Linked DNA regions of Homo sapiens: all the other regions are linked to region 4. The links are contacts of gene promoters, found by promoter capture Hi-C in human tissues and cell types (Jung and others, 2019). All regions are on one chromosome and are shown on one strand. The core of a region is centred on a gene start or on the middle of the fragment in contact, and the rest is flanking DNA. Distances in the headings are between cores, read along the strand shown. Region 1 overlaps LOC124909471 (a long non-coding RNA gene). Region 2 overlaps RPL39L (ribosomal protein L39 like). Region 3 overlaps LOC124909471 (a long non-coding RNA gene). Region 4 holds the start of MASP1 (MBL associated serine protease 1).

Region 1 (7,017 bases), core at 1,458-3,957, 190 kb before region 4:
CCCCTTCTTTCCTGAGTCAATCCTAGAGATCTGGCACATCCTTCAGGGGAGATCTAGAATAATTCACCTTCTTTGACATGCTATTCACTATGCCTAGGTGAACTCTTTTCCAGCATGCTCCCTCACTCAAGCTACAATCTTTACTTGCTTCTAGCTATGCTTGCCCAGTCAATATAAACACACTTTGATACCATAATTTCCTGCTGAGTCTGTAATGTTTATATATACTAGCCACTGTGACTAGGCCTCCACACTCTGGGTCTGGACATTCTCCTCCTCTTGGGTTACTAGATCCTTTTTCTCCTGCCCACCCTATTTCCCTCCAGTTGGTCCTGGGGTCCTGCTCAAACAAGCTGTTCATCTGGACTGTGTCACCATGTTGTTGCAAGTACCTGAGTCAACATCACCATTGCCTGGGTGCTCCTGATTCATGCCCCACAACTCAGGTGGAACTTTGTATTCTGGCTCTACCAGCTCATATGAGTTGAGTTCTCACATTCATCTAGACCATGCAGTTTGAACTGACAGCCACCACATTCAGTCAGCTTGCAAGTCAGGTAAACTCCCAGAGTGGCCTGATTCTGTCCCTTCCACCATCAGTTTCTCTCAAGGTCCTTGGCATGGGATCTCAAAAGAGTCTACCCATAATCTGGCTTTGAGAGAGTGATTCTGACTCTTTTGCAACTTTTTTCTGGAACTCTACTCTGAAAATTGCCATGCAAACAAATCATTCTCATTGCTTTTAAGATACGCCTCTTCTATGATGAAGATGAAATATCTTTGCTTTCTCAGCCCACATCTCCCTTTTGTAATTTTCTCATAAGCATGGGAGAATCTGAATTTGAAGGGCAATTCAATGTATTACCATTTCTGAGACATCCTGTCATCATTGCTCAATAAGTTAGTATTATATTTAAAATAGTTAATGAAATGCTAATTTGCTCTTGGTCAATCCTTTTATTGGATGGAGCTGAGCAACTTCAGCAAGTTTAACACTGCTAAATATATTCTTAAAAGTATAGATAATAACAGCATCATAGGCTGAGATTGCAAAGAACTATAGTGCCATCTGAAATAATGTCTGAGATGAACAGCACTCAAATGGGAGATTGCATTAGTCTGTTCTTGTGTTGCTATAAAGAACTACTTGAGACTGGGTAATTTATAATAAAAAGAGGTTTAATTGGCTCATGGGTCTGGAGGCTATACGAGAACCATGGCTGGGGAGGCCTCAGGAAACTTACAATCATGGCAGAAGGTGAAGGGGAAGTAGGCATGTCTTACATGGATGGAACAGGAGGAAGACAGCCAAGGGGGAGGTGCTACACTCTTCTGAAAACCAAATGTCATGAGAACTCACTCACTATCATGAGAATAGCATGGGGGAAATCCACCCCCATGATCCCATCACCTCCCAACAGACCCCTTCTCCAACATTGGAGATTATAATTCAATTGCAATTTGGGCAGGGAAACAAATCCAAACCATATCAGAGGTGTATCCAGTCAGTGTGGCAGAAAAGACTGCTTAAATCTTCTTGGGGAAGCTGGTGGTATTGCAGTTCAGATTTCAGATATTCCTCCTTTTGTGTGAAATACACTTCAAGAAAACCCATGGATCATTAAGCTTGTTGTAGTTAAAATTTTCTAATTGTTACACAGGGTTGCTATAATAGCTCAGGGCAGTATTCTATGTCTGGGTCACCACACAACTCTTGACCCTCTCTTGGCCTCAGTTCACTCATATATAAAATGAAGGTGATGGGCAATGTGATCTCTCAAGTCCTTCCCACTCTAAGATATATACATATTTTCTGGTTCATTGGCCATGGCAGCCTCAAAAATTCAGCTTAACTCCACATCAGAGTTAGCCTCTAAGTTAGATGTAGGCATGTCTTCAGATTACACCTGGTGGTAAGTTTCCCAAGTTTTAAACTCTTTATTTGCTCCTAAAAATTATTAGACTCACAATACATATAGGACACTAAGTGTTTTGCATGTTAGAGAGTTGTTGTGGAACTGAATATAATTTTCATTTAGCATCTGTTGCTTCAGGGCTCAGAGACTGATCCAGCTCACTCCTTCATAAGACAATCCTTCCAACTTGAAGACAGAGCTCCTTTCTCTCCAGAGAGAATCAGAAAGAGCAGAAGGCAAGGAAGACAAGCTCCATCCTAAACTCCAATCTGCACTGTTGGATTCATATTCTTCCAGAGCTGAAAAAGACTTGTGAAGTCCTATGATCTGTTGCACTGCCTCATTTTACAGTAAAGAAATTGAGGCTCAGAAAGAAATAAAATGGTTAGAACATTGGTGTTTAGAACACAGCTTGAATCAGACAGACCTGGGTTTGAGAACTGGCTCTGAAACTGTCTTTGCAAAAATTATATCAGTGAGAAAAATTATAACAGTAAGCTAAGCCAACTCTCCCCACCCCTTGCCTTTCCCTTAATTATTTCTGGGCTGCTGGGCTAACTTTGGAAGACATTTAGGCGACAGTGTAAATGATAATAGGCCTTGCCCAAAACTCAACTGCTTTTGTAAAGCTAATGGGAGGCCTCCATACTTGGGGGAGGAGAGGGGCCTGAGTCCTGCTAAGGCACAGACATAAATGAAGGCCAGCCATTATTCCGGAGGTTATAAGATATGTAACTTCCCCAATTATTCCTGAAAATAAAACCACTATTATAGATTGGCCTTTTGAGATATCTTTCCAGGTTTTTTTGTATGTCTGAAATCCATGGCTCCAACCCCCTCCTGTGCCCAGAAGCAAAGCAATTCAGAAGGACAACTTAGACTCCCTATGATTTTATCTCTACCCAGCCAATCAGCAGCAAGCACCTGTTACCTGGCCACCCCCACCTTTTCCCTCAAACTGCCTTTGAAAGTCGCCTAACCTATGAGCTTCTGATGAGATGATTTGAGTAGGAACTCCATCTCCCATGTGGTGTGGCTGGCCTTGTGCCTATTAAACTCTTTCTCTACCACAATGCCATGGTCTTTCTTTATGCATTGGGCAGGAAGAACCCCTCAAGCAGTTATAGCTCCATCAATTATTACCTCTATGACTGTGAAACCCCAAAATTTGAGAGAGGTCTCAGTTAATTTATAAAGTTTATTTTGCCAAGGTTGAAGATGTGCACCTGTAACACAGCCTCAGGAAGTCCTGACAACATGTGCCCAAGGTGGTCAGGGCACAGCTTGGTCTTACATATTTTAGGAAGACATGAGACATCAATCAATATATGTAAGAAGTACATTGATTCCCTCCAGAAAGATGAGGACAACCCGAAGCAGGGAGGGGGCTTCCAAGTCACAGGTAGGCAACAGGCAAATAATTGCATTATTTTGAGTTTCTGATAAGATTTCCCAAAGGAGGTAACCGGATATGCATTTATCTCAGTGAGCAGAGGGATGACTTTGAATACAAAGGGAGGCAGATTTGCCCTGAGCAGTTCCCAGCTTGACTTTTTCCATTAGCTTAGTAATTTCGTGGCCCCAAGATTTTCCTGTCACATTTCCCCTCTTTTCTTTTAAAAAATCTTTTGGAGAAAGCATTTTAGAAGGAAATTAGTTTCTGGTCTCAGGTTTCATCTGATCTCTCATGGCTAGGACAGTTTATTTCTAGATGGGTAGCTCCTGAAAGCTCATTTTTAGCAGATTGTGAAGTCTCATGTCCTATGAAGAGAAAGGAGGGGGAGGAAAGGAGAAAAACAACAACAAACAAAAGAAGGATCCTGGAAAATTGATATAGGTCACATTACTCTGAAGTCCATACATTAGTAGGCAGATATGAAAGTGGCTTATGTATGTAAATAGGTTGCTGTTATTTTCTTCTGAAGTTTAAGGTGTCTGGCTTCAGTTCACAGGGTTTTAAGAAAACACAGCTTTGTTTTCAGTGATTTCAAATTAGGACAAAAATGGGGGGAAAAGGAAAAGAAAGAAGAAAAAAATTAAAAATATTATTTTGAAAACTTGTAGCCAGGAAAAATTATAATTTAGCCCAAACTGTAGAAAATAATAAAAATTGAAAAACATTAGGAAAGACTCAAATCTAACAACAAGTGTACAATAGTTTTTGAAACATAATTTTTCTCTCTCCAGTTTTCCATTTTTACTAAAGACAAATCATGGTAGGACTGATTTGCTTTATTATATTTGGTCAGATTATTTGTATAAAGTGCAGCAAGAATAATTATTTTTCACATATGTTTTTAAAATTTGGCTTTGATGGAAGTTTTTACTATAGAAGGAATCTCAGATAAGACTTTTAAAGCTGAACCCAACCATGGACTTGTACCATCAAATACCTATGAGTTGGGTGAATTTCCCCTCCTCTTGAGGTTCCAAGATAAATTTGGGGCTCCTGGGCCTTTCTGAAAATGACATTCTTTACTTACCATAGGTCAGAAACCCTGTAGAGGGACTGTGTAAACTATGAGGCCAGTTTTCCCAAGGACTTTTTTGGTTCCATGAGTCAAGTTTGATTCCTTAAAGGACAACACACCATTCCAGTCAAAGCCTTGGTAAAATAACAAATTTCTCCAATTGTGTCCTGTTACAAATGAAAACAAATTCTTGTTGCACTTATGCAAATAACTGGATTGCCATAAATTAAGAATACTCACAAATAGTTTCCAAATTCTGGAGAAATCAGGTAGAGAGAAACAAATGTGCTCCAAATTTTGTTCATAAGAGTATACTAAATTGCCAAAACTGTCAATAGCTCAGAAGAAAAGTTTCAAGACTCTGAAAAACAAAACAAATGATCAGCAACATTTTAAGCAAAAAGTCAAAAAGATTAGTTCAGTCCATGCAGTTAATTCCTGTTCTGGTTGATATTCATGAACATTTTAGCACTCTATGCATGAGTCCTGAAAGTTTTTCCTTTATTCTGATGTCACAGTCTCCAAAGTTATCAGAAACCTGCATTCGAGAGCACCTGTTATAGTTTTATAGATGATTATAAAACCACCTTCCAAAGAGGACCAAAACAACACAACCATTGTCCAAGGATGACAAAAAGTTTTAGGGAACCCATAGTCAAAGACAAAATTGACAAGGAAATTTGTTACCTCTGTGGCAGACAATAATTTTAACAATTATCATTATTACTGGTAAAGTCATATCAGAATTACAGGAGTGTCCCAAAATTTTAGAATACATATCAACAACGTATTTATACAAATTAACAAAGAAAACCAAACACCATTTTATATTTGATAATGCTTCCTATATAATTTTTGTACTACTAAATGTCAAAATTATGTCATTTTTGGACTTTAGGGAAACTAATATCTTAGAGGATTAATTAAGTCAGAAAAAGACATAATTTATAATTTGATTTTGAAAAGTTTGTCAAATATCAAAGGTTTAAAACACTTGATATCACAAAATAGGATCACAAGTCATTGTAAAATAAGTCATTCTTTTAACCAAAGTAATAACTCAAAGATTTCAAAAACAGGCAAAACCTTTATTCTTTTAGAGAGGAGATTTAATTTCCCAAACAATAAGCCCTAATAAAAACAGTATGAAGCCAATTAAATTTGTTTTTCAAAATGTATAAACAATCTATAACATTTAAATCTTTACCATAAGATATAACTTCCAGAAGCCTTTTATAACCTTTATAACCATTATTAAGGAATCAGTTAATGCCTCAAGAAAACCTTGTTAATCTGACACAGGGGCCCATATGCTGGTCTTGCATCAGTGTGCCTTTGACATTAATGATTAATTTATAGAGAAACTGAACTTATTTTTATCTTTTAAAGTTGGCCCTTACAATCTCACATGCCCACCTCTACTGAAATAGTCCCTGGGCCTTGAAGAGCTGAATAGATTTAATTTCTGGCCCTGGGTCTCAGTAATGCAGTTAATTTTATGTGCCATCTATTACAGGGCTGTCAGTGTTTAAGATTTAGCCGGACTTGGTGGCCGTTTTAGATCCAGGAGTCAAAGTCCTGTAACTCAATGTCACAAGGACTTTAAAAGCACATACAGGAAGATACATGAATATAATAAACTTAATTTTTTAAAAAAATTAAATTTCAGTTTTTTCCTGGGAAGCAAAACAAAGTTAATAATAATGGCATACTAATTATTTTGATAAAACATAAAATCCATTACACAAGTTACCAAAAGGCAAAAGAAAATATCTTCCACAGTGCACAGAATATTATGTTGGAAGAAAACATTTCCCTTAGACCTTTAAGAAAATGTACCTTTTAAAAGGGGAGAGAAACAGCAAGATGCAACAAAAGTTAAACTTTGGGTTAAAAAAAGAATTAAAATCTCTTATAATTTATTAAGAGTGAATCAACCTCTTAAGAAAATGTCATTGTTCTAATCAATAACTTAGTGTATAAGTGGTTTTTTTTGCATCAAGCCAAATCTCTAGAAAGAGCATTATAATTTCCCTTTAATTATAAACAACTTGATCATATAAAAGTTTTGGGTTTTTTAAAAATTTTATTTAAGAAATACTTATTGTGACTTACACATACCATTCATGACATGCTTGGACTTTCTGGTTTGTCCTGAACATCTCTATTTCTTAAACAACCAGACATTTTATTTTAGGTCTAAATTTGCCATACAAGATTATTTCTCATATAAAATTATTTCTCTTTCTTTTTTTGAGATGGAGTCTTGCTCTGTCACCAGGCTGGAGTGCAATGGCACAATCTCGGCTCACTGCAACCTCCACCTCCCAGGTTCAAGCGATTCCCCTGCCTCTGCCTCCCAAGTAGCTTGGACTACAGGCGCGTGCCACCACACCTGCCTAATTTTTTGTGTTTTAGTAGAAACAAGGTTTCACCATGTTGGCCAGGATGGTCTCGATCTCCTACCTTGTGATCCACCCACCTCAGCCTCCCAAAGTGCTGGGATTACAGGCGTGAGTCACTGCACCTGGCCAAAATTATTTCTCTTTAAGCTTTCTTACCACAAAAAAAAACCCTCTTTTTTTTTTATAACTTTCTTTACGTCCCTCTTATTTCCTGGTTCCTTTACC
Region 2 (6,612 bases), core at 4,043-6,542, 180 kb after region 4:
CCTGAGCTGCTCCTGAGCTGCCTGTGGGATCCTGAGTGGCAATGAGCCCTCGCTGTGGCACTAAAGATCCTCTTTCTTGTCTTGTTATTTCTTCATGTTACCTTATCCTATCCTATGGTAATATTGTCTCTGTCTCTCTCTCCCTTTCTCCGCCATAGTGGTGTGTGGTTGACTCTGTTTCTCGCCATGTCTTCTCACAAGACTTTCACCATTAAGCGATTCCTGGCCAAGAAACAAAAGCAAAATCGTCCCATCCCCCAGTGGATTCAGATGAAACCTGGTAGTAAAATCAGGTACAACTCCAAAAGGAGGCATTGGAGAAGAACCAAGCTGGGTCTATAAGGAATTGCACATGAGATGGCACACATATTTATGCTGTATCAAGTTCACGATCATCTTACGATATCAAGCTGAAAATGTCACCACTACCTGGACAGTTGCACATGTTTTACTGGGAATATTTTTTTCTGTTTTTCTGTATGCTCTGTGCTAGTAGGGTGGATTCAGTAATAAATATGTGAAAGCTTTTGTTTCAAAAATGTCTCTGTCATCTTTAAAAACTGTCCCTTCATTTATTCGGTAAACATCAGGATCTGTGCTGTATGCCAAACCCCTGGGTAATGCTGAGGATAAATGCTGAGCCAAATAGACCTTCAGCCTGTGGTGAGAGGGATAGATGCTGCTCAGATCATGCAGATGTATAAATGGGACAAAATGAGATCAGGACTACAGAGGAAAATAAGATACAGAGAAGGTAGAGTTCCTGGGCAAGTGGGGAGACCCACTTTATGCCTTCAGTATGTGTTCAGAACTCAATATAAGTTAAGACCTATAGGAGGCACGAGTCAAGTAAGTGAAGATTGTCATAGGGAGAACAAGTATTTTAGGCAGAGGAAACAGCATGTTTGAAGGCCTTGAGCAGCAATGAGCACATTATGTCCTTAGGGAAGTGAAAGGAGCATAGAAAGGAGCTGGCTAGAGCGTAGAAAGCAGAGGGAATGACTCTAGGTGAGTTTGCAGAGCTAAGTAAAGGCCAAACCACAGAGGGCTTTATAAATCATTAGAACTTTGTGCCTTTTTCTCCTAAGCAATCAGCAACCATTGAAAGGTTTTGAACTGAAACCATACTTCAATCAGGTCAGTTTTCACACTGGCTGTATTATGGAAAATGGATTTGAAAAAGAGACAAGAATGGTATTGGATGGAACAGGAGGCCATTGATAAAGTGCAAATATCAGTGACCAGTAAAGGGCCAGTCACAGATTTTGTCATTTATATTGCTACTCTATTTAAATAGGACATTATGCAGAAGCAGTAGTAGGCCATGGTCTAGAATTTGTAACATTTCTAGCTAGCAGTCTCTGCCTGTCTTCTTCACTCTTCTCTACATGTGGGTTCTTGTGTTTGCCATAAACTTCTGGACAGCGGTCATGTCTGAGAGTTATGAACTAAGAGTTATGAGATAATCTTTTTGCTCTTCCCAAAGTATTGCAGCCACAGCTATTAAGAGAATTGAACAAGTAATGAGTGCTTATGATGTGCCAGGCACTATAGTGGGCACTGGCATATGGAGTGAGTAAAGACAGAGTCCCTACTTTCATGGAACTCATTAAACTGGGAGCAGATATTAAATCTTGCAAATAAGTAATTACAAACTGTGAAGTGACTGTGTCTACTTGCCTTGTCAGTTACTAAAAAAAATCTTAAGGAAATAATCTTCATGGATCCCAGTCCCACGGCTACCTTGTATGATCATGCAGTTTGGCTGTTAGACAAAGATGGCTGGCCAAGGGAGTTAATCAGGACTACAACTCTGCTAGAATTCCACTTGCCAAGCCGCACCATTGTGCAAAGCTACATCCGCCCAGAGGGAAGGATACATTTTTCTTTGTGCTAAGGTGTCATGTAGGTCAGCTTCATCTCTCCCTCTGATATCAGGAGTGAATTCCCTATTCTCAAAATTGAATGGGAGGCTTTGCCTCATAAATACGTAGCTGCCCTGAGCACAGAAGTGTATAGGAGGTGAAGGTCTAGGAATGAGTGTAATTTTATGCTTATAAAAAAATGGAGTACACTCAATTCTCCATATTCATGGTCCCGCATCTGCAAATTCAACCCACCACAGATTAAAAATGTCCAAAAATTATAATACAGTAATAAAAAATAATACACATAAAAATACAGTATAACAATGATTTATATACCATTTATATTTTATTAGGTCTTATAAGTAATCTAGAAATGATTTTAAATATACAGAAGAAGTGAATAGGTTATATGCAAATAAGTATGGCCATTTCATATAAAGGACTTGAGCATCTGTGGTTTTAGTATCTGTAGAAGTCCTAGAACCAATCCCTGGCAAATAACAAGTGATGACTGTACAAAGAAGGCCTCGGACATAGATACATTTTTAGTACATAGATAATTTTTTTAAGTGGGCCCTTCATCTTCAGGGATTAGATCAATGTTGTATAGACCTAAGACAACGTGTCCCAGTGGTGGAACAGTGGAGGAAAAATCTGGTCTGTGCATCACGAGATGGTTGTACTAGGGTTAAGAAAATTAAGGGAATCATACTGGGAAAGCTATGATGGAAGAGGAAGGAGGAGCCCATATATAAAATCGAGTATTGGTTTCTATTCTTTTCTTTTTTTTTTTTTTTTTGAGACAGTCTTGCTCTGTCGCCCAGGTTGGAGTGCAGTGATGTGATCCTAGCTCACTGCAGCCTTGAACTTCTGGGCTCAAATGATTCTCCCACCTCATCCTCCTGAGTAGCTAGGATAACAGGTGTGCACCACCATGCCCAGCTAATTTTTTACTTTTTATAGAGACAGGGCCTCACTGTGTTGCCCAGGCTGGTCTCCAACTCCTAGCCTCAAGCAGTCCTTCCACCTTGGCCTCTCAAAGTGCTGGAATTCCAGCCATGAGCCACCACACCCATCTTGGTTTCTGTATCTTGAGTCTAGTTAATTGAACAAGGCTTTACTCCCATAATCTTAAGATTCCTGACTCAATTTTGAAATAATGGAATCCCTGCTTGTGGGAGTGATCCTGTTTCTGGGAAGAATTCTTCCACAATAGAAACAAAAAGCAAAGGACTAGGATTCGGGTAGCTTGAAGTTATGGCTCTTCCCATCAGTTTTATGATGTTGGACAACTGGTAGAGAACCTCTCTGGGCCTTAATTATTGTATTTCACCTGGATATATCAGACAGCCGACTTCCTCACTGAGTTACAAGGCTTGAATGAGATTGAAAACAGCTTCATAAACTGAGGCAATAAAACAAGGTTTTCATAAAATGCTACTTTAGAGTGTCAGAGGTCTGACTCTGAGCTGAGTTGAGCTGGGTGGGTTGGCTGAACCTCTCTACCTTGGTATGGTCTGTTTCTGAGTGGGGGTTTGGGCTCATCTGTCTTTAGGCTGCACCAAGGGCTGTGACTACACGCTAGCATTGATGATTGAAAACATTTTAATAATTTGCCATAAATATCCAAGACAATAGGTAGTTTTCTGATTCTAATAGATTATGTTCTGAGCATAGGCCATCTGTCACCTAATGAAATCTGAGGTCAATTATAGAGAATTTTTCCTCCATTTGATGGGACCCATAAAATTTAGGTCACTCTCAAGCACCAGCACCAACCTTAACAGAGAGCACATATCAAAAGATACAGATGTCTTTTGTTTGCCACATATCATATGAGAAAATATACTTGAAATTGTAGGATGATGTAAATGGGTATGTTCAGTATAGGTCTACATTTGATCCAGCAATCCCACTACGGGGTATCTACCCAGAGGAAAAAAAGTCATTATACGAAAAAGATACCTGCACACACATGTTTATAGCAGCACATTTCGTAATTGCAAAAATGTGGAACCAACCCAAATGCCCATCAATCAATGAGTGGATGAAGAAACTGTTTTTTATAGATAGATAGATAGATAGATAGATAGATAGATAGATAGATAGATAGATGATAGATGGATGATGGAATACTACTCAGCCATAAAAAGGAATTAATTAATGGCATTCGCAGAAACCTGGATGAGATTGGAGACTATTATTCTAAGTGAAGTAACTCAGGAATGGAAAATCAAATATTGTATGTTCTCACTCATAAGTGGGAGCTAAGTATGAGGATGCAAAGGCATAAGAATGACACAATGGACTTTGGGACTCAGGGGGAAAGGGTGGGAAGGGAGTGAGGAATAAAAGACTACAAACTGGGTGCAGTGTATACTGCTTGGGTGATGGGTGAACCGAAAATCTCACAAATTACCACTAAAGAACTTAACTTATGTAACCAAACACCACCTGTTCCCCAATAACCTGTGGAATTAGAAAATTTTTAAAAAATGTATTAAATCCACTCTTTGGAACTCAGATAACATCTCCAGAACACCCCAGTGCTTTGTTCCCAACATCCTTTCTAAGTCTGCACCAAACAGCACAGGCACTCTCTTCTCCTCACGTATCTTCCTTGATCATCACTGAAACTCATGTAGAAGGATGAACTGGAGAGCCGAGTGCTGAAAACCCCTCACAGCTGTCTTCTCTTCTCACAGCCTTTCATCAGAATGGCATCACACTATCTAATTTTCCCCATCTGGTAGGTGAGAAACGGTATCTCAGTATAGTCTTAATTTGCATTCATTTGTTTGAGTGAGGTTGAACACCTTTTCATATGTGTAAGGGCCATTTTTATATCGTGTTTGTGTGTGTGTGGTCTGTTCATGTTTTAAGCCCATTTTCATGTCATATTTTTGGACTTTTTCCTCTCCATTTTTAAGAGTTCTTTATATATTAGGGATATTAGCCCTTTCTGATGTATGTTGCAAATTTTTTCTTCAAATTTCTCCGTTGTATTTTTACTTTGTTTATGGTATTTTCCCACACAAAAGGTTTTTTATGCAACAAAATTTATCAAATTGTTTTTACTATATCGAGATTCTGAGTCATAATTAGAAATCCTTTCTCTATACCCATTTTTTAAATGAATTTGCCTCACCTTTTCTTCCAGTATTTGTTTCTATGCATTAATGAAATTATTGTCTAGATATAAAAACCCCAAATATTCTATAAAATAGATCCTAGAACCAACAGGTGAGGTTAGCAAGTCACAATATATATGGCTAATATTCAAAACACAATTGAATTTCAGTATTATAAAAATAAATGATTGGAAATTAAAAATTTTAAAATACTACCATAGTACCATTTACAATACATCAAAAAACAAAATACTTAAGAATAAATCTAACAAAAATATGCAAAGGATTGTATGCTGAAAACTGCAAAACACTGCTGAAAGAAAGCAAAGCCTTAAATAAATGGAGAGATATACTGTATTCATAGATTGGAGAACTCAGTAGTGGTAAAATGTCATTTTTCTTCAAATTGACCTATAGATTTAACACAATTCCAATCAGAAACATAATAGGCTTTCCTGTAGAAATAAGTTGATTCTAAAATTTATGTGGAAATGCAAAGAATGTAGAATACCCGAAATAATTTTGAAAAAAGCAACAAATTTGGAGGGTTCATACTAACTGATTTTAGTTTTTTTAATTTTTAAAATTTTTTGTAGAGATGAGGTCTCCCTATGTTGCCCAGGTGGATCTCAAACTCCTGGGCTCAAGTGATCCTTCTGCCTTGGCCTCCCAAAATGCTAGAATTACAGACATGAGCCACCACACTGGGCCCTAACTGATTTTAACACTTATGGTAAAGCTATAGTAATTGAGCTAATGTAGGCTTGGTGAAGTAAGATAGACAAGTAGAATGAAGAAACAAGACAGGAAATTTAAAAAATAGATCGATGCATAGAGGATCAATGAACTTTTGACAAAGGTGCAAAGGCAATTCAGTGGACAAAGGATAGTCTTTACAACAAATTATGCACATCTACATGTTAAAAAAAAAACCCACCTTGATCCATATCTTGTACCATATACAAAAATAAACTCTAATGGGATCATAGACCTAAATGTAAAATCTAATGGTATAAAGCTTCTAGAAGACAGCATAAAAGAAATATTCTTAAGTTTGGGTGAGGCAGAGGTGTCTTAAATATGACAACAAAAACACAATTCATAAAATTAAAAACTTGATAAGTTGGACTTTATTAAATTTAAAATCATTTCTCTTTAAGACATTAAGAGAATGAAAAGTAACATCAGAAGCAGAATATTTGCTCTCTCTAGATATCTCTGTATACTACATATATCAAATAAGAGCCTTATATCCAGATTATAAAAAGAACTATCAAAGTTCAATAATAAGGAAACAACAATTTATAAAACAGGCAAAGAATTTGAACAGACGCTTCATCATAGATGATATGTAGTTGGCAAATAAGCACATTAAAAGAGGTTCATAGTGATATGCAATTAACATCATTTTTAGGATATACAAAATAAAGCTACAGTAAAATACCACTATTGACCTATAAGAATGAATAAACAAAAAAAAAAGCAAAAGAATACAGTTGACAATAGCAAGTGCTGTCAAGGATGCAAAGCAACTGAAATTCTCATACATTGCTGGTGGGAATAAAAAATAGGGAATAGTTTGGGCATTTTTAAAGTTAAACCTGTATTTACTC
Region 3 (6,850 bases), core at 2,556-5,055, 200 kb before region 4:
AAAAGAAATAAGGTAAACTTTGAGCATGGAATATTAGATGCCAGTTATTTATCAGAGTGGATTCTGTTCTTAAGGGTATGTAGCCATCTTTTTCAGATATTCAGGCCACACAGGCAACCACTCTGTTCCCTAGGGTAAAACTAGCACTGGAATTCAAGTTCCATGTCTGACCTTTTTTTATGTCAAGCTCTTGAACAATGAAACTAGAACAGCCTCACCTAAGGCAGTGGCAGTGAAATTGGGGAAGAGGAAACAACTTCAAGAAAGAGTTTGAGGATAGACTCAATAGAACTTGGAATGAAGGAATGAAGAATGTGCATGTCAGTTCAAGTCCTCTAGAAAGTGGATGGATAAGACAGAGTTAGAAGTGCAACAGATTCATTAGCAGTAATGTCTATGAAAGACAAAACAGAGGGAACAGAAAGGGGTAGGAAAAGTCTTTAGACCATGAGGTAGGTCTGATATCTGTGAAAGGAGAGGAGAAAGGAAGGTTGATTAGATAGGAAGAGCCTCAGATTTTGGTGAAGCTCTGAGATTTGACCAACTTATTGGAGAGCTCTGATCCAAGGAATGTCAGGCAAGGAATCCTTCATTGGACAAAAATGGTGAGGCTCATTCATTGAGTAGGTGCTACAGGAAAGAGAATGACCTCAGCTCAAATGTTGTGATGGATGAAAAGGTGCTACAGGTGTAGGCTGTCAGCTAACTGCACTCCTTGCCGCAGACTTCTCTTGAGGGAAGATCTGGAAGGGTCTCTTCCATGGCTGCCACAGGGGTGAGAAGAGATAGGAATCAAAGATCAATCCAAAGCTCCTGGATAGATGGCTGGATAGTTCCTGATATTATGAACACATTTTAGAGAAATGGGCTGTGGAACACTGTCTTCTCCAAATGCCTCTGAAATAAACCTTGCTTGGAGGTAGAGAATGTGACAAGGTGACACTTTTAAGCCTGTGATTTAATATTCTTTTTTCTTGTACTCTGCACAGCATCATGTGTCATATTGCAGCTCATACTCTAAAACCACAGCTTAAGCCTCTTCTCAGATTACCTCTTCCATAAAGCTAATCCGAATGAACCCAGGATTTAAAAAAAGGTTGACACAATGCTATTGATTCAAAGCCCTTTTTAATAGATCATTGCTTTTTCTTGAATTCTCTTTCCACCAATTCCTCAATATCTTTCTTATATGCCTTTCTCACTGAGAATTCTGTCTAGCCCCCTGCCAAAAATTTGTCTCCCTTCCTTCCTTCTTTTGTTTGTTTTATAAAGGCATTTACAATTTTATTAAGGGATAAATATGTATGATAAACTGTATATATTTACTGTACAAAATTGGACAAATGTTGTAATATGTATAGACCCTGTAACCATGCCACAATTAAGATGAAAAAGATTTCCATTAACCCAGAAAGTCTTCTCATGCCATTTGGTAAAATATTTATCTCTCTTTCACCAGGAAAACATTGAATTGCTTTCTGTCACTGTAGATTAGTTTTCATTGTCTAGAATTTTATACAATGGAATCATATAATTGTACTTTTTGTCTGGCTTCTTGGACTTAGTATAATTACTTTCAACTTTATCCATCAATCAATAATCTTGTTGCCAAATACTGTTCCATTTTATGGATTTACCACAATTTGTTTACATTAAGCCATTGATAGACATTCAGTGGACTTCAATTTTTGGCTGATAAAAATAGTGCTGCCATAATTATTTAAGTGCACCTTTTCTATGAATGTATGTTTTCATAGCTCTTGGAAAAATATTTACTTAGGAATGGAATAGCTGGATTGTATGGTAAAAGAATGTTCAACTTTTTAAGAAAGTGCCAAACTGTTTTCCAAAATCGTTGTACCACTTTATATATTCAAACCAGTAGTATTTGAGAGTTCTAATTTCTCCACATCATGTTAACATTTGGAATTATCATTTTGTTTCATCATATTTTTAAATTTTGGCCATTCTAGTCAAAGTGTAGTTGTATCCCATTTCGGTTCAATTTGCATTTCACTAATAACTCATAATGTTCAGCTTTTTTTTGTATGCCATCTATGTGTCTTCTTTGGTAAAGTGCCAGTTGAAATCATTTGCCCATTTAAACAAATTATGTTCCTTGTCTTCTCATTTTACAGTTGTAACAATTCTTTATTCTGGATAAAAGTCCTTTGTTAGATATATATTATGCAAATATTTTCTCCCAAATCTGCAACTTAGATATTATTTTATTTTTTTATTTCAGTAGGTTTTGGGGAAACAGGTGGTTTTTGGTTACATGAATAAGTTCTTTACTGGTGATTTCTGAGTTTTCGGTGCACCCATGACCCGAGCAGTACACACTGTACCCAATGTGTAATATTTTATCTCTACCCTCCCATCCTTCCCCTCGAGTCCTCAAAGTCCATTATACCATTCTTATGCCTTTGCATCCTCATAGCTTAACTCCCACTTATAAGTGGGAACATACGATATTTGGTTTTCCACTCCTGAGTTACTTAGCTTAGAAAGTGGTCTCTAACTTCATCGAAGTTGCTACAAAAGCCATTATTTTGTTCCTTTTATAGTATTGCATGATGTACATATACGACATTTTCTTTATTCACTTGTTAGTTGATGGGCATTTAGGTTGGTTCCATATTTTATCACTTGTGAATTGTGCTGCTATAAACTTGTGTGTGCAAGTGTCTTTTTCATATAATGACTTCTTTTCCTTTGGGTAGATAACCAGCAGTGAGATTGCTGAGTCGAATGGTAGAAGTACTTTCAGTCCTTTAAGGAATCTCCATACTGTTTTCTACAGTGGTTGTACTAGTTTACATTCCCACCAGCAGTGTAAAGGTGTTCTCTTTTCACCACATCGATGCCAACAATTATTATTTTTTGATTTTTTAAATTATGGCCATTCTTGCAGGAGTTAGGTGGTATACTGAATTGTGGTTTTAATTTGTATTTCCCTGATAATGAGTAGGTGTTCTTTCCCTACTTCATGTTTTTGAATGCTTTGTCAATGATCAAGTTGGGTATAAATCTTTGGCTTTATTTCTGGGTTCTCTATTCTGTTCCATTGGTCTGCATGCTTATTTTTATACCAGAACCATGCTGTTTAGGTAAGGATAGTCTCGTAGTATAGTTTGAAGTCAGGTAATGTGATGCCTCCCAATTTGCTCTTTTTGCTTAGTCTTGCTTTGGCTATGCAGGCTTTTTTTTGGTGGGGGGGGTTCCATATAAATTTTAGAATTTTTTTTTTAGTTCTGCAAAGAATGATGATAGTATTTTGATGGGAATTGCATTGAATTTGTAGATTTATTTTGGCAGTATGGTCATTTTCACAATATTGATTCTATCAATCCATGAGCATGGGATGTGTTTCCATTTGTTCACGTCATCTATGATTGCTTTCAGCAGCTTTTTGTAGTTTTCCTTGTAGATGTCTTTTATCTCCTTGGTTAGGTATATTCCTAAGTTTTTGTTTGTTTGTTTGTTTTGTTTTTTGCAGCAATTGTAAAGGGGGTTAAGTTCTTGATTTGATTCTCAGCCTGGTCATTGTTGGTATGTAGCAGTGCTACTGATTTTTGTACATTGACTTTGTGTTCTGAAACATTATTGAATTCATTTATCAGATCTAGAAGCTTTTCAGATGAGTCTTTAGGGTTTTCTAGGTATACAATCATATCATCAATGAACAGCGACAGTTTGACTTCCTCTTTATCGACTTGGATGCCCTTCATTTCTTTCTTCTGCCTGATTGCTCTGGCTAGAATTTCCAGGACTACGTTGAATAGAAGTAATGAAAGTGGGCATCCTTGTCTTGTTCTACTTCTCAGGTGGAATGCTTTCAACTTTTTCCCATTCAGTATAATGTTGGCTGTGGGCTTGTAATATATGTCTTTTATTACCTTAAGCTATGTCCCTTCTATGCCAATTTTGCTGAGGGTTTTAATCATATAGGGATGCTGGATTTTGTCAAATGCTTTTTCTGTGTCTGTTGAGATGATCACGTGGTTTTTGTTTTTAATTCTGCTTATGTGGTGTATCACATGCATCAACTTGCGTATGTTAAACCATCCGTGCATCCTTTGTATGAAAGCCATTTGTTCATGGTGGATTATCTTTTTGATATGCTGTTGGATTTGGTTAGCTAGTATTTATTTGATTTTTGCATCTATGTTCATCAGGGATGTTGGTCTATAGTTTTCTCTTTTTGTTATATCCTTTTCTGATTTTGGTATTAATGTGATACTGGCTTCACAGAATGATTTCGAAGGATTCTGTCTTTCTCTATCTTTTGGAATTGTTTCAGTAGGATTGGTACCAATTCTTTGAATATCTACTAGAATGCAGCTGTGAATCCATCTGGTCCTGGATTTTTTTTGTTGTTGGCGATTTTTTTTATTACTGTCTCAATCTTGCTAATTGTTATTGGTCTGTTCAGAGTTTCTATTTCTTCCTGATTTAATATAGGAGGGTTGTATGTTTCCAAGAATTTATCCATCTCTCCATTTTTTTAGTTTGTGTGCATAAAAGTGTTAATAGTAGTTTTGTTGACTTTCTGTCTTGATGACCTGACTAGTGCTGTCAGTGGTGTATTGAAGTCCCCCACTATTATCTCAGCATCATTTGTCTGAAAAACTTGGTAGTGGAGAATTCTCTCAGCATTTGTTTGCCTGAAAAAGACAAAGGCCAGGGAAGTCGTCCTCAATTATTCCCTCAAATAAGTTTTCTAAAGTTTTAGATGTCTCTTCTTCCTCAGGAACACCAATTATTCTTACGTTTGGTCATTTAACATAATCCCAGCTTTCTTGAGAGCTTTGTTTACTTTTTTATTATTCTTTTTTGTTTGTCTCTGTCTAATTGGGTTAATTTGAAAGGCTTGTCTCTGAGCTCTGAAGCTCTTTCTTCGACTTGTTCTAGCCTATTGTTGAAATTTTCCATTGCATTTTGTATTTCCCTAAATGTTTCTTTCATTTCCAGAAGTTGTGATTGTTTTTCTAATGATATCTATTTTTCTTCAATATTATGCATCCGTATCCTGTATTTTTTTTAATTTCTTTAAGTTGGTTTTCACCTTTCTCTGATATCTCGTTGAGTAGCTTAATATTTAACCTTCTGAATTCTTTATATGGCAATTCAGAGGTTTCTTCCTGGTTTAAATCCATTGCTAGAGAGCTAGTGTGATCTTTTGGGGGTGTTATAGAACTATGTTTTTCATGTTACCAGAACTACTTTTCTGGTTCCTTCTCATTTGTGTAGACAATTTCTTCAAATTGTTCTTGAATTCTTTTTTGATTGGACTGTGTTTTGTAGATTTAATTTTCTTTTCTTTTTTGTGTTTTCCTCTTAAGAATCAGACTTCAATGTTTATTATAGTCTAATTTGATTCTTGGTGCTTGTAGGGGTAAAGACTCTGTATGAGTTCCTTAGTTATAGAGAGTCTTTGTGTGCTGGTTTTCCCCAATGTTGGTTGTAGTAGTTATATTCTTGGTGTGTGGGTGAGTTCGACGTCTCCTCTCAAGTTGAAATGGCAGGGATCTCTTGAAACTTATCTCGTTCCCTAGTGGTGTACAATTTATTTGTTTATTTATTTTTTCCCAGTGTTTTATTTACTGATTTGATGATTCAGGCTTCAGGTCAATAGGAGAGGTAAGCCTGGTTAGGCTCCAGGTGTGGCTAAGGCAGGTGGGAAGATATAATACCCAGTGGTGGGCCAAGGTCCAAGCCTTGATGAGTAACTGGGGGCACTCTCAATTAGACGAGCTGAGGTTTTACCTTGGTGAAGAGTGGGAGCTACCTCAGCTCTCTTGCCAGGTCAGCAGGAAAGCTCTTCACCTCAAAGCCTCACTCCTGTCCTAGTGTTGCAGCTCTTCAGATGAGACAGGCACCTCTTTTAATCTATAGGAATGTTGAGTTCCAAGTAGGAAGGAATTGTGACACTGCCGCTTGTATAGGCCTGAATCTGGGGGGGTGCTCCTCCTGTGGGGCTCCACTCAGCCTGGATTGTTCCAGAAATGCTGCCTACAGGTGCCTCCACACTGCATTCTTGTGGGGGAAGCCCCAGCTGCATTTGTGGTGGAGTGGCAGTAGGGAAGAAGGACCCCTTCTCCAAGGCCCTTCACAATCACAGAGGCAGCCTGCCTGTTGGTGTAGAGGTGCAGACTTTCCCTACTGTGCCCAGCACTGCAATTGTATCTCTTCTGTGAGAAACTACCCACCAGTGGAAGGATGTGGAATTCAAGGCCTGCTGTTCAGATTCTTTTGTCCCATGGGGTGATCCCTTGATGTGGTGCTCTCCCCCTTCCTCTAGAGATGGGGCTCCCTGAGAGTTGGACTGCAGTGATTGTTATTGCTTTTCTGAGACTAGTCACCCAGTGGGGCTATGGGGCTCCAGACTGCTGCTGATGAATGTCCACAAAGAGTTCAGTGATGTGATCATTTTTCAGCTCTCCCAGCTGTGGATACCAGCACCTGCTCTGGAGGAGGCATCAGAGGAGTGATGAGATTCTTTGGTTGTAGAGAGGTTTAGTGTGCTGGCTTTCTCAAATGCTGGTTATGCTAGCAGTGAAGTTGGCATGTGGACAAACTCAGGACCTCTAGTTAACTAGAATGCTGCAGGTGGTGGAATTAACTATTGTTTTCTCTTTCCTGAGAGCAGGATCATTCTGTCATGAGTTGCTATAATGGCCTGAGTTGTTTGGCCTCCAGCCAGGAGGTGGTTCTTTCAAGGCAGCACCAGTTGTGGTATTAGCAGTGGGATTTAAGCTTGCCCTAATTTGGCCAGGGGAGGTATTCTGACTTCTCAGGCACTCGGCAGGGCCATAAAGCTCCCAAGAGCTATAGTTTTTTGTTCAGC
Region 4 (5,983 bases), core at 1,985-4,484:
AAAAAGTCATTGCCCAAATTCTTTACGTTTTCTAACCCATTCATTGAATTCCAGAAGCTCTAGCTCAAAAGTTGCATAAAATAAATACTTTGGTAGAACATGTAAACCAAAACCTCTTCCAGTGGTAGGAATATTGCCGCATTTACCCTTAGTAGGCAGCTCTCTGATCCCTTTCCCGGACTACAGGACTATAGTGCGCGGGTGCTGAGCCCACCTCAGTCATTCTACGCTTTCATGATTCTAAATGATGTCAGTTCCTTGTATGCATTTTTTAATCGCTTTTGCCAAACTCAAAAAACTAGTTGAACCTTTTTAAATATTACTTTTTCTGAATATCTGTGATTAAATTCTTAGTATCAGTAATATTATGAGCACAGAAAAAGCCAATGTCAAGATTATTAGAGCTATTTTGGACTCCTTGACAATCTTTTAGGTCTAGCAAACTACCTAACCCCCTCCCAACGACATCATTTCATAGTCTTCATATCCACATGTTGATATCTATGATCTCAACTGAGTCCCACCCCCTGATTTCATAATTGAACACACTGATGCCCCACCCCTCCACCCCTCAACCCCCACCCCTGAGAAAGTAAGTGACTTACCCAAGGTCACATGCAAGCTGGCCTATAGTCACTGAGCCCAGTTCTGTTTCCAGCCTAATGTCCCTTCCATTCCTCCCACCCCTGATGACCCATGATCTCTTAGTGACACTTCAGGGAGATTCATCAAAAGCATCAGACAATATGTAGTGTAACCAAGTAGAAAACTGTCCTGAATCACATGCAGATCATTCCTGGGCCACGTAGTTCCTGTTTTTATGCAGATTTCCTCTGAGCCTTGGCTAACTCCCAGGGAAGCGCACATATCAGATCTGCTATATATTGGCAGAACTTTGGCTTAGAACACATCTCGAATGCTTTCCATTGAACATTGGCAGCCTTGAAGAAACATGGCTAGAAAATTATTCCAGGAGGCCTAATTGCTCTGTGACACTTTCCAAGGAGAAGCTGATGGCTTTCTCGCCCAAGCTCTTCCCTCTGTACCCAGAACAAATGACTGCAGTTCCCAGTATATGCCCTAAATTAGGAGAGGGCAAACTCCGTGGCAGCATGAATTGAGGGAATGTCTTTACTGGGCAGGGGCCCTCTTCCCAGCACAGTGTGCATTTTGCCAAGCTCTTTCTCCTTCAGTTTTAAAACCCTTGTGTATTCCAAGAGAAATGTCGTCCATGTGTTTCTGATTCATTTACACGTAAATCATTAAAATGTTGTTTTGTGAGAGTTATTTAATGTGTGCGGAGCCTGTGAGTCTTCTTAACGGGAATGTTAAAAGCTTTTTTTCCTGTGCTGACTGAGACAGAACACATTTTGCTAAAACAGTGCCTGAGTTCAAACATATCCTCCCATCTCATATACTTGTACCTGCTTTATCAACCACAGCCTCTTGATAATGCCAAGCTTGGCAAGGCTGGCATTCAAAAGTGTGAAAATTAGAGAAACTGGAGAGAAAATGGAGTAAGAAGTACAGTGAGAGTCAAGCCACTGTTCCCCAGAACGTGCCAAAGGAACGTTATCTGAGGGTAGACAGTGCATGTGTCTGCCGCTTTGGTGAGTGTGGCTGGCAGCCCTCTCTCTGGTACTCCCCTGGACACTTCTACAAGCACAGTCTTATTTAAGCCTCATAGTAACTCCCATTTTCCAAATGAAGACACAGAATCAGATACCTTAAGTATTGTGCCCAAAGTACACAGCTGTCTTGGGTAGAAAGGAAAGATTACAGCTAAACTCTGAGTCTAATCTTCTTTTCAAAATGACTCAGATTGAGTTTCTCTATGAATGCCGTCTGTGTGTGTGCATTTGAAATTCCATATGCATTATAAAATGTTAATGAGTAGCAGTGTAATACAGTGGCTAACACTTCAAATTCTGCCTCTATTACTTTCTAGCTGTGTGAACTTGGGAAAGTTACTTAACCTCTCTGGGCAATTTCCTCTGAAAAATGAGAATATTGCCAGCCATGTATACAACATATAAAGATGACTGAAAAGAATTCATATATTAAGTGCTTAGAGCAGTGCCTGACACGTAGCACTCAATAGCTGTTAGCTTCTAGTGCTAGTGGCAGTGGGGAGTCATAAATAACTGGATGATCTTGGCAAGTGGCATATTCTCTCTGAGCCTTAGTGTCCTCACTTGTAAAATGAGTATAACAGCAGCACTTTCACCAGTTTGCAAAAGTAACTTGAGATGATGTTAATGACTAGTACTGTGTCTAACACAGAAAAGGTGCACAGTCAAACTTAACTTTTACACCCAGATACACCTCTCCCTATTCAGTGTTGGTTGTTGTTGTTGTGGAGGGGGTAATTTTCTTATTATTCAGCTCATCTTAGATCTAGTGTTGATTTCTCCGGAAGCCATGGGTATAGACATATATACAGGCCCAGGTCTTTCTACACCCCTGGGGAGGTGAGATTTCTTGCTGCGATGGGCCCTTTCTGGGCTGGAGTAGAGCCGCACACACTCCGAGCAAGTAAACAGTGCCACAGGTATTGCTCATGGGGAGGAACAACCAGCCAACTTCAGGACTTGGTGCTTCCCCAGTTCCGGGCCCGTGGCTCTGTTCACAGGAAAACCTGTCGTTGTGTGTGACTCTGATCACGAGAAAACCTGTAGTTATTTGGGGCTCTGCTCACAAGGAAACCTGTAGTTATTTGCAGACAGACGCTCTGGGATTTAGACCTTTTTTTTTTCTTCTAGTGTAGGTGCTAGAATTGCCTTCTTAGTTGGTTGTTTCTATTTAATTGCTTTTCTTTCATGGGTGTCCTGAAGAAAAGCAGAAAATTATAGTCATCTGGCAAAAAAGACTAAAGAGAAATTAGACTTTGTCCCCTTTCACTCTCTCTCTCTCTCTCTCTCTACACACACACACACACACACACACACACACACAGAGTGATACAAATACCTGCTTGAGCCCCTCAGTTATTTTCTCTCAAGGGCTGAAGTCAGCCACACAGGATAAAGGAGGGAAGGGAAGGAGCAGATCTTTTCGGTAGGAAGACAGATTTTGTTGTCAGGTTCCTGGGAGTGCAAGAGCAAGTCAAAGGAGAGAGAGAGGAGAGAGGAAAAGCCAGAGGGAGAGAGGGGGAGAGGGGATCTGTTGCAGGCAGGGGAAGGCGTGACCTGAATGGAGAATGCCAGCCAATTCCAGAGACACACAGGGACCTCAGAACAAAGATAAGGCATCACGGACACCACACCGGGCACGAGCTCACAGGCAAGTCAAGCTGGGAGGACCAAGGCCGGGCAGCCGGGAGCACCCAAGGCAGGAAAATGAGGTACGTGCCAGGGGAGGAGAGGGCACGGTTCCCTTTTGGGGACCAGTGTCAAATAGCAGGGAAGGTCTGACCTTGTCACTGACAGACTCACCTGCGTGTCCTGCATGTGGTAGTGAGGGGCTTTCTCATCAATTCTTAGGGCTCTGAGAAGGGAGCTGTGGGTGGGCTGGGTGCCTTCCCCAGGACTCCAGGAGACATAAAACTTGAAACGGGAGACTTCGTGCAAATCCTGCTCCGGACGCTGCTGAAGCTCAGATTTCTCCCACTGCCTGCACAGGGTGCTGCCTGCTGGCGAATGTGACTCTCCTCCTGTTCACCCACAAGGCTGATTTTTCCGTGTTCCTCCTCTGGAAAGAGCATTGCTTTCTCTCTTCCAGCACTTTGTGAGTTAGATATGTGTTTGTGTGTTCATTCCTTCTGACCAGAAAAGAAACCAGCTTCCCATAGCTTGGCTCTGTGGTTTCTTCAACCTTTACAAGTTTGCCAGTTAAACCTCAATTTAGAAAACTAAAAATCTGTCCCCATTTTACAGTTCCCTATAAATTTTCTGCATTTCTCATTGAAATCAGAGGCAGCTGGTGGCATGAATCAGGCTATGAAGTACACCAAATGGCTCTTAAAGAGATATCATACTTAAAAAAAAAAAAAGGATTTTAGAGTTCTGAAATCAAGAACTTCAAATTCTAATTGGTTTTAAACTCTTTAACCTTTCTTATTCCTCATTATACTTGACACTCCTTACCAGACCTTTCATACAAGTTCTATCCTGCAAGTCTGAAAACCCAACCACCCTAGTTATTTTTATTAGTTAAGTGTTAATGCTGTTACACACACACACACACACACACACACACACAATGCTCTGCAGATGTGTAAGTCCCTAAACACATCTTTTACTATTAATTTTCTTTTCACTTGGGAAAGTGTTTTTATTTGTTTCTCTTCTGCAAAGTAACCTAGCAACTTTTCTGGACCTGAGACCAATGAGAGGCTTCAGACTATGTTAACTCTTTGAACTCCGATTACCTGTGGTTCAGAGAGATAACCAGGTCCTTAAAAAGTGAGTGCAATAATTCTGTTCTTCTTAAAGCCATAGTAATTTTAAACCTGCCATTAAACATCATTTTTCTTTCTCCAAAAAAAAGTGATTTATGTCAATCTACATTGAATGATAATCTCATTTATCTGTCAATGATCTGGTCTGAATCCCACCCTACCATTCAGTGCCCCAGCCCATATCAAACTACTTGGCTGAGTAACAATTCTGTATCTTTGCATATGCTCATCCCTCAACCTGGAGCAACCTTCTTCTTTATTTTCCACCTAGAAGACCTGATTGTTCAAGCTGGCACAAATATCTCTTTCTCTCTCCTGACCACCATATTCCAGAGTGAGCATCCCCTCCTTTGTCCTTTGTTCTGTTTCTGTCCCTTGAAGCTGCATCTCTTATTGTCCTTGTAGTATCCCCTTGTTTAAATGTCCACCTCCCCTTACAAGTCTCAGCACTCCTTAAGTTACATGATCTATGTCTTCATCTTTGTATGGCCAGCACCTAGCATAATGTCTATTTCCTACCAGCCATTCAATACCTATTTGTTGAATTGAATTCAATTTTTGAATAGCCAAGCAACTACGAGAAAGGTGCTCTGCTAGAAAAGTCTCCAGCAGGTCTTGTCTCACATGGATACAGTATTTCAGTGTTTGCAGAGCACTTTCAAGAGCACTGTCTCATGGGGGTTTCAGATTCTGGATGAAGTAAGGATTTATGGATAAGTAGTGGGTATAAAAGCAGTTAAGCAACTTGCCCAAACCACACTGATGATCATGAAAAGGTCCAGATTCAAATTTGGGTCTTCGGGCTCCAAGTTCAGGATTTTTTCTACTATATTCCACTAGACTTTCAGCCAAGTGTATTATTCTAAACTGACGGCTCATAATTCTGACTGTACGTCGGAATGATCTGTGCTGCCTTGAAACATGCCAGTGCTCAGGCCTCACCCCAGAGCAATTAAACCAGAACCTCCTGAGGAGGGACTTTGGCATTAATATTTTTAAATTTTTTACGTAAAGCCATGGGTTTTTCAATTATTTTTCACAGGATTAATTGCTTTGGCCAGATGCCTGGGCATGATATGGGCATGGACCCAGCTTCTTCTGTGAGCTCTTTTTATTCCCTTCTTCTGTTGAAGTTAATTCACCATATGGTATTGAGCATGATGTGACATCTCTTGGGGTATCCTTTTCATCGTCTGTCAAATTAGGGTGCTCTGTAAAGGATCCATGCAGTCCCTTCCAACTCTTCAATTCAAAAATGGAGTCTTGGTGTGGAGTGGGTTGAAACAAGGGGCGTGTACGGACAGTGTATGGAAAAGATAGCAAGTGCCGTTCATGCCGCAATCATAGATATATGCAGGCATTTTTACAGAGTCCTGCTAGCCTGTTCCTACGGGGGGCCTCTGAAATCTCAGCTCTATATATTACTTTTGACATTTCTGCAATGTAGCTAAACTTTTTGATTAGCCGGAGGATAGATAGCAGGTGTTGGGAACTATACAGCCGGTGCCTCGTATACAAGAAGCCAAAAACATTCAGAGAGTGTGACGAGGAATGAAAGCTGCCACTTATATTCTTCAATTTACA

The links. Contacts are between HindIII fragments. The study calls those that stand out against the background at their distance.
Region 1: a fragment that was not itself captured here is called in contact with the fragment with the promoter of MASP1 in region 4 in 1 of the 25 tissues and cell types used here (thymus).
Region 2: a contact is called between a fragment that was not itself captured here and the fragment with the promoter of MASP1 in region 4, in 1 of the 25 tissues and cell types used here (liver).
Region 3: a fragment that was not itself captured here is called in contact with the fragment with the promoter of MASP1 in region 4 in 2 of the 25 tissues and cell types used here (heart right ventricle and mesendoderm cells).

The regions. Positions count from the first base shown.
Region 1 is chr3:187,473,456-187,480,472 of GRCh38, reverse strand. It overlaps LOC124909471 (a long non-coding RNA gene), which reads left to right. Exons shown (of 2, transcript XR_007096210.1): 2 at 2,055-2,989. Among named protein-coding and RNA genes, the nearest start is that of LINC02041, 30 kb to the right of the region's middle. The HindIII fragment of the contact is 8,570 bases long and covers 1-6,992 here.
Region 2 is chr3:187,114,875-187,121,486 of GRCh38, reverse strand. RPL39L (ribosomal protein L39 like) reads left to right here. Exons shown (of 3, transcript NM_052969.3): 3 at 159-539. The coding sequence starts at 187. The coding sequence ends at 342. It also overlaps the pseudogene RPL39P19. Among named protein-coding and RNA genes, the nearest start is that of RPL39L, 21 kb to the left of the region's middle. The HindIII fragment of the contact is 4,041 bases long and covers 3,272-6,612 here.
Region 3 is chr3:187,491,415-187,498,264 of GRCh38, reverse strand. The region is part of intron 1 of LOC124909471 (a long non-coding RNA gene); the gene reads left to right. Among named protein-coding and RNA genes, the nearest start is that of LINC02041, 48 kb to the right of the region's middle. The HindIII fragment of the contact is 7,793 bases long and covers 1-6,850 here.
Region 4 is chr3:187,288,988-187,294,970 of GRCh38, reverse strand. It overlaps MASP1 (MBL associated serine protease 1), which reads left to right and starts at 3,234. Exons shown (of 11, transcript NM_139125.4): 1 at 3,234-3,343. The coding sequence starts at 3,339. LOC101929130 (a long non-coding RNA gene) reads right to left here and starts at 3,699. Exons shown (of 2, transcript NR_135551.1): 1 at 3,435-3,699. The HindIII fragment of the contact is 8,732 bases long and covers 1-5,983 here.